2 separate regions of the Homo sapiens genome follow, and region 1 is linked to region 2. Evidence: promoter capture Hi-C in human tissues and cell types (Jung and others, 2019). All regions are on one chromosome and are shown on one strand. The core of a region is centred on a gene start or on the middle of the fragment in contact, and the rest is flanking DNA. Distances in the headings are between cores, read along the strand shown.

Evidence for each region. The method cuts DNA at HindIII sites, captures the fragments that hold promoters and counts their contacts. A contact is called where the count stands out against the background at its distance.
Region 1: a contact is called between a fragment that was not itself captured here and the fragment with the promoter of MKS1 in region 2, in 1 of the 25 tissues and cell types used here (mesendoderm cells).

Annotation. Positions count from the first base shown.
Region 1 is chr17:57,974,370-57,980,135 of GRCh38, forward strand. VEZF1 (vascular endothelial zinc finger 1) reads right to left here. Exons shown (of 6, transcript NM_007146.3): 5 at 4,783-4,944; 6 at 1-531. The coding sequence ends at 104. Among named protein-coding and RNA genes, the nearest start is that of VEZF1, 11 kb to the right of the region's middle. The HindIII fragment of the contact is 3,172 bases long and covers 815-3,986 here.
Region 2 is chr17:58,217,751-58,223,148 of GRCh38, forward strand. MKS1 (MKS transition zone complex subunit 1) reads right to left here and starts at 1,505. Exons shown (of 18, transcript NM_017777.4): 1 at 1,401-1,505; 2 at 870-979. The coding sequence starts at 1,480. It overlaps LOC105371841 (a long non-coding RNA gene), which reads left to right and starts at 1,564. Exons shown (of 2, transcript XR_934884.4): 1 at 1,564-2,309. RefSeq lists an enhancer at 1,333-1,612. The HindIII fragment of the contact is 13,166 bases long and covers 1-5,398 here.

The DNA.
Region 1 (5,766 bases), core at 1,151-3,650, 240 kb before region 2:
TAAAATCTCCCAATTTCATGGTTTACTTTTTGCTTTAATCAACTAAAAGTTAAGTTGCTGGTAAATATTTACTTTTACCCATATTTTGATTTTATAATACTGTTTACCAAGGCGGTGATGTAGGCAAAGCTTGGGGCAAGAAAGGCATGCTCTCTACAGGTCTCATTGCTATATTGAGAGGGGCGGCTAATGTCATAGGTGTGGGTAGATTCATTGGAGATGTGATGGTGACAGGGTGTGCTATATTCACTGGGGCAGTGACGGGGGTGGGGAGGTTGACTGGGGTAGTGAGTGTTAAAGGAGAGGTCATGGATAATGGACTGGTTATAGTTACAGGATGCCCTATGTTCATTGGGCTGGTTATGTTAACTGCACTTGAAACATTTACTGGACTTCTCATGCTCATTGCAGCTGCCACTGTGACTGGGTTTGACATAGTCCCAGACGACACAGAGGATGTTATACTGAATGGAGTAGTGAGAGTCACAGGTGTCGTAGCAGCCGTGGAGGTTTGGCACAGGTTAGCAGCTTCTAAAATAAGAAGAAAAAGGGTCTTTAGATTCTCAAAACAGTGAGCAAAATTCACAAAGTTTCTGAATCAATTTCTTTTCATTAAAAATGTCAAACATTTAATAAATCAAATTCCAGTTTTCTATCAAGCGGTCAACAGAACAGAGGATCTTTCTGAGCACAAGCCTGGGGGCCAGGGATCCCAGTGTATGAATCACCTTCTGATGCTATACCTCCTGCAAGGACTTAAGCAACTTGTTTAGCCTTGCACTTTAGGTTTCAAGTTCAGATTTACTTACCTACCTCACAGTGATGCTGAGAGGATCAGTTAACTTCTGCAATGCAGGGCTAAGTGTTCTCACTACTACTTCATGCAGTTCCTCTGAGTTCTAAAAACTTTCTTGGGAAGAGCCAACCTCCAGCAGGCCAGGCTAAAGAGCTTGTTTACACAGAGCTGGGCCAATGGTTACACAATAACAGATAATCAGAAAAATCTTCTCGTAAGGCACACTGTAACTAGCAGAGAGAGGTGTGCATACTCAATAAGTATGTTAAAGCCTGAGACATGAAGCCACATTCTGTGAAGGTTTTAAAAATGCATAATTGGGGAATGATAAACAAGCTATTTTAGTATCATGTTTGTTTCAGTTTTAGAAATATGTTTCAGTTAAATAATCTTATTCTTTCTGGTTATGTTTCTTAACTACATTAGGAAAGAAAAAAATACTCCTCAATAAGTTCATGTTCTCCTCACTCCCATTTCTTCTTGTTTCTGATGTTGACACAATCACCTATTTTATGCCTAGTATCTTTAACTCTACATATTACACATACCACCAAGCATACCAAAGAGAACTAGCTAGGCAAGGAGACCCTGCAGTGAGTTAGAGGACCCTGGTCCTTCTTATCCAACAAAACCTGGACACTTTTTTTTCTGAGACAGGGTCTCCTTCTGTTGCTCAGGCTGGAGTGCAGTAGCATGATCAAAGCTTACTGCAGCCTCAAACCCTCAAGGCTCAAGCAATCCTCCCACTTTAGTCTACCAAGTAGCTGGGACTACAGGTGCATGCCATCACGCCCAGCTAATTTTTGTGTTTTTTGTAGAGACTGGGTTTCGCCACGTTGCCCAGGCTGGTCTCCTCCTAGGCTCAAGCGATCCGTCCACCTCAGCCTCCCAAAGTGCTGGGATTAAGGTGTGAGCCAGGTCTAGACACTTCTTAAAAAATACTTCCCCTCAAGGTGACATCCCCAACCCACCCCTCAACAAAATTCAGCACCAGAAAACAGCAGTAAAATGATGGGTAGGCTAGCTGTGACTTGGCTATCAAAATGGAGAAATATACTTGAACTAAAGATAGAGATCTGTATATGATCCACAAAGGTCTTATCACCGCAGGGGGACCCTTGAGTCAAGCAGCCCTTACTTGATCAATACAATGTAACTTTGGCACACACCATTCTCCCTATCAGGGATTCCCAAATCTGGCTGATTATCAAAATCAACTATCTAGAGGACTTCAAAACAAACAAACAAACAAACAAAAAAAACCCAACAAAACAAAAACAAAGGACTCCAGGAGAATCAATAGTGAAATTTAGATGGAACTTGGGAAATGTGTATTTTTAAAAAGCTTCCCAGACAATATGATTGTCGATCAGGTTTGAAAACTTATGTTACCTTATTTAGGCCTAATATTTAAAGGACGTTATAGATTCAAGCTTAGATTTTCAGGTCAGGAGTCTCCTCTCCTCTAAAATGTGACATTTACTAACATGAATACAGAGGTTTCTAAGATCAGTGGTCTTTTTGAGAGAGATTCACGCTACAAATGGGAATACAATAACATTTTGTTTCATGGAAGTCAGAAGATGAGCTAAACAACCAAGTCTTATTGTGCAAGCAAATTGAAATACAATACCAAATAGAGGAGTACACCGAGAGAGATTGAGAGAGAAAACCAATTCACTTTAAGGTGCTGGGAGTATTGCTGAGGATATTCTCCACCTGCTTTCACCAAAGAATTTTTACTCTCTTATCTGCTGACCCCCTTACCTCCTCCTCCGTGTTTTCTTTTTAATCTAAGAGTGTCCTTTTACTATGACTTAAACATTTTTACTCCTTCTCTAAGTAAAATACCCTTCATAATATACTTTCAACCCACTATACAATTATCACAGCACTACACTTTTTCCTCCCCATTGCCCGTCCCCTCTCCCCATTCTAACACAAAAGTTCATTTGTTTTGTTTTTTTTGAGATGGGGGTCTCAATCTGTTGTCCAGGCTGGAGTGCAGTGATGCAATTGTAGCTCACTGCAGCCTCAAACTCCTGGGTTCAAGTGACCCTCCCACCTTAGCTTCCTGAGTAGCGGGGACTACAGACACGCACTGTCACGTCCGGCTAATTTTTTGTTGTTGTTGTTGTTTTTGTAGAGATGGGGTCTTGCCATCTTGCCCAGGCTGGTCTCAAACTCCTGGCCTCAAGTGATCCTCCCACCTTGGCCTCCTGAAGTGCTGGAATTATAGGTGTGAGCCATCACACCTGGCCAAAACATTTTATTAAAATAATGACAAATCTTCAGATGGAAGCTAGGAACAAGCAGCACCTGAGGAATGATGAAAAGCCTATACGGACTGCTGCATTCTTTTCTTCCAATGCCAGTAAATGTATGAAAAAGAATGTCGCCAGGGCCCAGTAGCTCACGCCTATAATCCCAGTACTTTGGGAGGGTGAGGCGGGCAGATCACCTGAGGTCGGGAATTCGAGACCAGCCTGACCAACATGGAGAAACCCTGTCTCTACTAAAAATACAAAATTAGCTGGGCGCGGTGGCACATGCCTGTAATCCCAGCTACTCAGGAGGCTGAGGCAGGAGAATCGCTTGAACCTGGGAGGCGGAGGTTGTGGTGAGACAAGATCATGCCATTGCACTCCAGCCTGGGCAACAAGAGCAAAACTCCATCTCAAAAAAAGAAAAAAAAAAAAAAAGAATGCTATTCCTTTTATTTTTATCCAAGTATAGGAGGTTTAGAGATCACTCTGGCCAGGTGTGGTGACTCATGCCTGTAATCCCAGAACTTTAGGAGTCTGAGGCGGGTGGATCACTTGAGATCAGGAGTTCAAGACTAGCCTGGCCAACATGGCAAAACCCTGTCTCTAGTAAAAATACAAAAATTAGTCGGGTGTGGTGGCACACACCTGTCGTCCTGGCTACCCGGGAGGCTGAGGCACAAGAATCACTTGAACCCAGGAGGCGGAGGCTGCAGTGAGCCGAGATCACGCCACTGCACTCAAGCCTGAGCAACAGAGCGAGAGACTCTGTCTAAAAAAGAAAAAAAAAAAACAGAAGGGATCACTCTGAGGAAGGGAAGAGCCACACTACATGAAAGCAAAAGATGGAAGAAACTACACAGAAAAGGAATTACATACAGAGGAGCCCACAGATAGAGGATTCCTTAACATTTAACATAGTAAGACATTGTAGAGGTGGAGGAGGAAGAAGGAATTTACAAATCTGTCCTTTGGCTCATGATACATTGACAAAATGATTCATTTGAAATGGCTGCACAATAGTCCAGAAGCCAAAGCTGTACTAGTAAGTTGAAAAGTACGTTGAAAACTGATACTCCAACTGATTCGTTAGAAAATATACACGAGAGAAAAGCAAACCATTTAAAATTTTTTAAACAATTACAGTAAAGTCCTCAGCAGCAGAAGACTAGATATGTTAAGGCCAGCCAGTGATAGACTGAAGGAGATTAAGGGTGTGACCAAGAGAAAAGACATCAACACTACAGAATCTGAAACATGTAATAAATAATACAATGAAAAAGAACACTACAGAGCAAAAATAGCACAGTTGTAAGAAAATGAACTTATGTACACACAAGGATATCCACCTCTAAAAGTGGGAATATTTTAGAAAGGAAAAAAAAAGCCCATAATGCATGGAGGTTGACATCAAATTGAATATAAAAATGCAACTCTGAGCATAGCAAAGGACCAAATTTGGATCCAGGTTTGTAGCAAAAAGTACATCAAAAGAAAGAACATGATAGGAAGTACTGAGAACTTTTAATTCCTAGTAATAACTTATCTGGACACTTTATTGCCAATAACTATACTTTACCAGATATTTCCCAGCATGCACTATTTCCATGTTTCCATTAAGCTAGATTTCCTAAAACTGTGGCTTCTCTACTTTGATCACTTGGCATACTAAATGAAAACACTTCTCTAGCCATATTTTCAACACTGGAAGCTGTGCCTTACCTTTCTTCCTTGCTTTAACAGCTTCTTCCCACAGTCTCAGTGTTTCTACTTGCTTCCCTGGCCAGCTTGTCACATGTTGTTGTTGTTGTTGTTGCTGCTGCTGCTGCTGCTGCTGCTGCTGCTGCTGCTGCTTTTGGTTACTGGTCTCTTCACTCATGCATGCTATTACAAAGACAAACCAAAAACACTGTATCTACCTGTAAAACTGTTGCCGTTTTTTTTCAAAATTGACTTCTCATGCTTCTGTGATCTTAACCATTTAACCTGATAGCTCTTAGTAAGTGCATCTTTTTTGCTGCTGTGTCTATATTGGTCAAAATAAACAAGCACTAAAAAGTCTAGAGAACTAGCAAAAATCAATATAAAAGAGAAAAGGACTCTTTGCTATAAAAAAAAAACCATCAAAAAAAAAAAAAGCAAGTGTCTTTAAAAATGGAAGTTTGATATTATTAATATAGGACTAATCAACATTCAACAAAATTTTTTATTTGATCACAATAATGTACACTAAAAGTGAATGTTTATAGGCCGGGTGCAGTGGCTCATGCCTGTAATCCTAGCACTTTGGGAGGCCGAGGCAGGTGGACTGTCTGGGCTCAGGAGTTCGAGACCAGCCTGGGCAACACGGTGAAACGCCGTCTCTATGAAAATACAAAAAAAGTAGCAAAGGTAATCGGGCATGGCAGTGTGCACCTGTAATCCCAGTTACTTGGGAGGCTGAGGCAGGAGAATCGCTTGAACCCAGGAGGCGGAGGTTGCAGTGAGCCGAGATCGTGCCATTGCACTTCAGCCTGGGCAACAGTGTGAAGACTCCGTCTCAAAAAAAAAAAAAAAAAAAAACAAAAAAAACAGAAGTGAATGCTTATAAAGTACAACATACCAGTGTACTTACAAAGAAGTGTACTTACAAACCCAGTGTACTTACAAAGAAGTAAAAATGGATAGATTAACACACATTAAGCTTTCTTCCCCATTCTCTTGTGG
Region 2 (5,398 bases), core at 255-2,754:
AGCTATGATCATACCACTGCACTCCAGCCTGAGCAGAAGAATGAGATTCTGTCTCAAAACAAAACGAAAACAAAAACAAAGAAAACAAATCTAATCTAATACACTCTTGGGTATGCCTTTTTCAGAGACACGTTTCACAACCTGTGAGCCCACACTCTTGCCCAGGAACAGCTCTGAACAGAAAGAGAAACAATAAAAGCAAACAGACTAGTGACCTGACAACAACCACTCTGTCCTCTCCTCCTCATTCTTTTGGTTTCCCAGATAAGGAAAACCACAAGAACACAGTTGATCTATACATGCACATCATATGCAGATTTTGCAAGCAGTCTCCAGTTTAAAAATTGTTTTTAAAAGTGTTTATATGTGTATTTAGGGTTTGGGGCACGTTTTCTCTTTTAAAAATGCCACAAATAGGACGGGCGCGGTGGCTCACGCCTGTAATCCCAGCACTTTGGGAGGCCAAGGCGGGCGGATCACGAGGTCAGGAGATCGAGACAATCCTGGCTAACACGGTGAAACCCCGCCTCTACTGAAAATACAAAAAATTAGCCGGGCGTGGTGGCGGGCGCCTGTAGTCCCAGCTACTCGGGAGGCTGAGGCAGGAGAATCGCGTGAACCCGGGAGGCGGAGCTTGCAGTGAGCGGAGATAGCGACACTGCACTTCAGCCTGGGGGAAAGAGCAAGACTCCGTCTCAAAAAAAAAAAAAAAAAAAAAAAAAAAAAAAAAGCCACAAATAGAATGTAGGTTGCCGGGCAACTCTATAACATATCAGAAGTATAGTATTTGTTATCTCACTACATTTGGCCACAATTCTGATTAGTATCATAATTAGTATTAGATGGCACATCACCACCGTAACACCCACTGGCAGTTGGCTGAGGCCTAAAAGTGGCCAAGTCTATGAGGTCCTTCCCGAGCTCGGCAGCAGGCTGATAATGAAGAAAGTTGCTTGATGTGATTCTTTGCAGGTGGACTCTGTCAAGAAAAGCCCAAAATATTCGTTACCAGACACGCAACCAGGAGATGAACACAAAGCAAGGATGGGGGAAACAAAACAGAGGAGGTAGGGTTGCCAAGGTGTGCTGGGTGCAGACAACGGAGAGGAGGTGGGTGGGTGCGCCGTCCTATGGGGAAGAATGAAGGGGAGAGGGTGTACTGGGGGCACAGGGCTTTGAGAAACTGGGAGCAACAAAGACGTGAATGGACTTGGGTAGGTCTGTAAGGGGTTCTTAGAGGCTGTGAGTGGATGGGGGTACGGATAGTGAAAGAAGTGGGGAGCCCGGAGAAGTGGTCGGGATTGTAAGCAGAAAGTGGGGACCTCAGAACACCGAGCTCAGGTTGGAATGATCTAAGGACACAAAAGCATGGGGCCTCGGGGCTGGGGCGGTGCGACTACCGGAGGCGCAAGTTGCGCACGGGGTCCCGGGAGCGATACACTGCCTCCCCGGTGTCAGTGCTCCAGACGGTCTCCGCCATGACAGCTGCGACGCGCCGCGACTGCGCCGGAAAGCGCGCCGCTCTGTTTTCCTGGCAACGGAGACGCTGGATCGGGAGGCGACGGAGGTGCTGCGCGCGCAACCCGCCGTTCCCGTCACGGCGCCACGGTCGCAGTTGGCCACACAGTGCAAGTGCAGCCCAAGCCGAACGCCCAAGAGGGCTCCGGGGTCCTACCGATCACCGCTTACCATGTATGCGATAAAAGCTCACCGAAAGCGGGACCTCGTGCGCTGTGCAAATGAGGAAACTGGCACAGCCATCAGCCCACTTCATATAGACAGATAGATGCAGAAATGATGACGGGGACCAGGTGGCCTGAGTCTTCGCCCTCTACCTTTTCCACCATGCCACACTGCCTTCCACCCAACGCGTGAAAACTTTGGCCTGAAAATCGGGTGATGTGACTGTAAGAAATGCACCCATTATTCCCAAAGGAGTCAGGGAAGGTGATGGCCCTTAGCCAGACAAGAAAATATATTCTTGGAAGACAAAAAAAGTGTCAGAAGATTTATTAGTCTTTGTGTTGATATTCACTGAGCAAAGAAAGAAAAAACAAGGAAGTCAACAGTAAGGAAGGAAACGATGTTATTATTGAACTGATTCTTACCTTGTGTATGTTAGTTTTGGATCATTAAGCCACTTTGTTACTGCACTGGCTTCCTGAAAAGCCAAAAAAGTGACATTCACAAGTCATGCTTCGTTGTACTAGCAAAGGAAGGACATGCTGTAACCTCACGTCTGGCGTCCCGGCACTTTGGGAATGTCAACATTTATCAGCCTTGTTCACATCTAGTCCTCCTCCAACAAAGTAAGCAATTGTCCCCTGAACTCGGGAATCTCATGCCAGTTTGATGATTTGGCATTGGAAGCTCTGGGTGCCATAGCCACTAGTTGTGTAACACCGACTCACCATAAATAGCACCATTTATTTAGGATCTAGTGCAGCTTGAGCACTTTTGTTTGCATTGTCCCAAATCCTTGTAGAAGCCTCTCAAAAAGGTACTTTTATTCACTTTAAAAATGAAGTTCGTGAAGGCCAGGGTTTAAAGGACTTGCTAGCTTGCAAGTGGTAAAAGTACTGGGATTCTAGCCCAAGTTCTTCTGTCTTTTGAAGCCTAACCACCTTCCAGTTTGCCTCACAGCCTCTCACCTACCAATTTATTCCATAAACGCACACATTTCCAACCTGGGAAATAATAATTTTTTTTTTTTTTTTTTTGAGACGGAGTCTCGCTCTGTCGCCCAGGCTGGAGTGCAGTGGCGGGATCTCGGCTCACTGCAAGCTCCGCCTCCCGGGTTCACGCCATTCTCCTGCCTCAGCCTCCCAAGTAGCCGGGACTACAGGCGCCCGCCACTACGCCCGGCTAATTTTTTGTATTTTTAGTAGAGACGGGGTTTCACCGTTTTAGCCGGGATGGTCTCGATCTCCTGACCTCGTGATCCGCCCGCCTCGGCCTCCCAAAGTGCTGGGATTACAGGCGTGAGCCACCGCGCCCGGCCGGAAATAATTTTAACATAAAACAAAAGGCACCTTTCTAGCTCCTAAGAAATTGTCTCTCCAATGTTTCCTTTTAAAATTGTGAGTAGGCAATCTGTGCCACATGCACAACAGCTGATAAAGTGGAGCCTGATTCTAGTTTAATTTTATAACCAAATCTAACTTATAACAAAGTTAATCTGACATAATTATATGCAAAATAGTTTCTATACCACGTTATGGAAATATAAGCTATTTGTGTAAGCAACCATAATTAGTATTATTTTTATATAGGTAAACTAAGTTTTCATGTTTTGTTTACTGATTTCTATGAATCAGGATCCTTTTATGTTTAAATATTCAGCTTATTGGTCTTAAGTACATTTACCTTGTTTTTCAACCATCATCACCATCCATCGCCACTACTTTCTTATTTTTGAAAATTGAAACTCTGTTCCCATTAAATAGTAACTCCTCATTCCCCTCTTCCAGCCCCTGGCAACTACCATTCTACATTTTCTCTCTATGAAATTTGACTGTTTTAGATACCTAATCCATATTGTAGCATGTGTCAGAATGTCCTTTTTTTTTTTTTTACTTTAAATTCCGGAATACATGTACAGAACATGCAGGTTTGTTACATAAGTATACATGTGCCATGGTGGTTTGCTGCACCTATCAACCCATCACCTAGATTTTAAGCCCTGAATGCATTAGTTATTTGTCCTAATGCTCTCCCTCCCCCTGCCCCAGACTTTGCGACAGGCCCCAGTGTGTGGTGTTCCCCTCCCTGCGTCCATGTGTTCTCATTGTTCAACTCCCACTTATGAATGACAACATGCAGTGTTTGGTTTTCTGTTCCTGTGTTAGTTTGCTGAGGATGATGGCTTCCAGCTTCATCCATGTCCCTCCAAAGGACATGATCTCATTCCTTTTTATGGCTGCATAGTATTACATGGTGTATATGTACCACATTTTCTTTATCCAGTCTATCACTGATGGGCATTTGGGTTGGTACCATGTCTTTGACATTGTAACTAGTGCTCCAGTAAACATACGTGTGCATGTGTCTTTATAGTAGACTGGCTTATATTTCTTTGGGTATATACCCAGTAATGAGATTGCTGGGTCAAATGATATTTCTGGTTCTAGATCCTTGAGGAATCCGCACACTGTCTTCCACAATGGTTGAACTAATTTATATTCCCACCAACAGTGTAAAAGTGTTCCTATTTCTCCACAGCCTCGCCAGCATCTATTGCTTCCTGACGTTTTAGTAATTGCCATTCTGACTGGTGTGAGATGGTATCTCATCGTGGTCTTGATTTGCATGAACCAGGATTCTTAAAACTGAGATCCATGAGTGGGATTCAAGAAGTCTATGAATCCTTTCCCTAGAATTCTGAATGGGGGATTTTTCTAGAAAGAGTTCATAGCTTTTATCAGATTCTCAAAGGAGTTTGTACCATGATATCAAGAATGGCTTGGGCCAGACACAGTGGAGTTTAGACCCAGGAGTTTAGACCCACCGGGGCAACATATTTTTTATTTATAAAAAATTTAAAAATTAGCCAGGTTTGGTGGTGCATGCCTGTGGCCCCAGCTACTTGGGAGGCTGAGGTGGGAGGATCATGTGGGCCGAGGAGGTCGACGCTGCAGTGAACATAATTTAAAAGGAAGAAGTAAAATTGTGTATATCTACATACAATATGAACCTAAACAATCCTAAAGAATCTACAAAAATGCCAGCAGAACTAATAGGGTTATAGAATACAAGGTCAATATACAAAAATCAATGGTATTTCTATATACTAGGAACAAACCATTTGAACTTGAATTTTAAAAATCACAGCCATTTAAAATAACATCCAAAAGCACAAAACATAAAATTAACAAAATATGTGCAAGCCTTGTACACTTAAAATGTCAAAACATTGGTAAGATGAAGACCTGGATAAAGTAGAGTACTATAACATGTCCATGGATTGGAAAAATCTATATCATTAAGGTAATTATCCTCAAGATGATCTAAATCTCAGTAAAAATCCCACCAGGTTTCTTTGTAGAATTGACAAGCTGACTCTTAACATCTATATGGAAATGCAAAGGAGTTACATGGTTAAAAGAATTTTGAAAAAGATCACGCCTGTAATCCCAGCACTTTGGGAGGCTGAGGCGGGCAGATCAAGAGATTAGGAGATTGAAACCATCCTTGCCAACATGGTGAAACCCTGTCTCTACTAAAAATACAAAAATTAACTGGGCGTGGCGGCATGCACCTGTAGTCCCAGCTACTCCAGAGGCTGAGGCAGGAGACTCGCTTGAACCCAGGAGGTGGAGGTTGCAGTGAGCTGAGATCACACCACTGCACACCAGCCTGGCGACGCAGCAAGACTCTGTCTCAAAGCAAAAAACAAAAA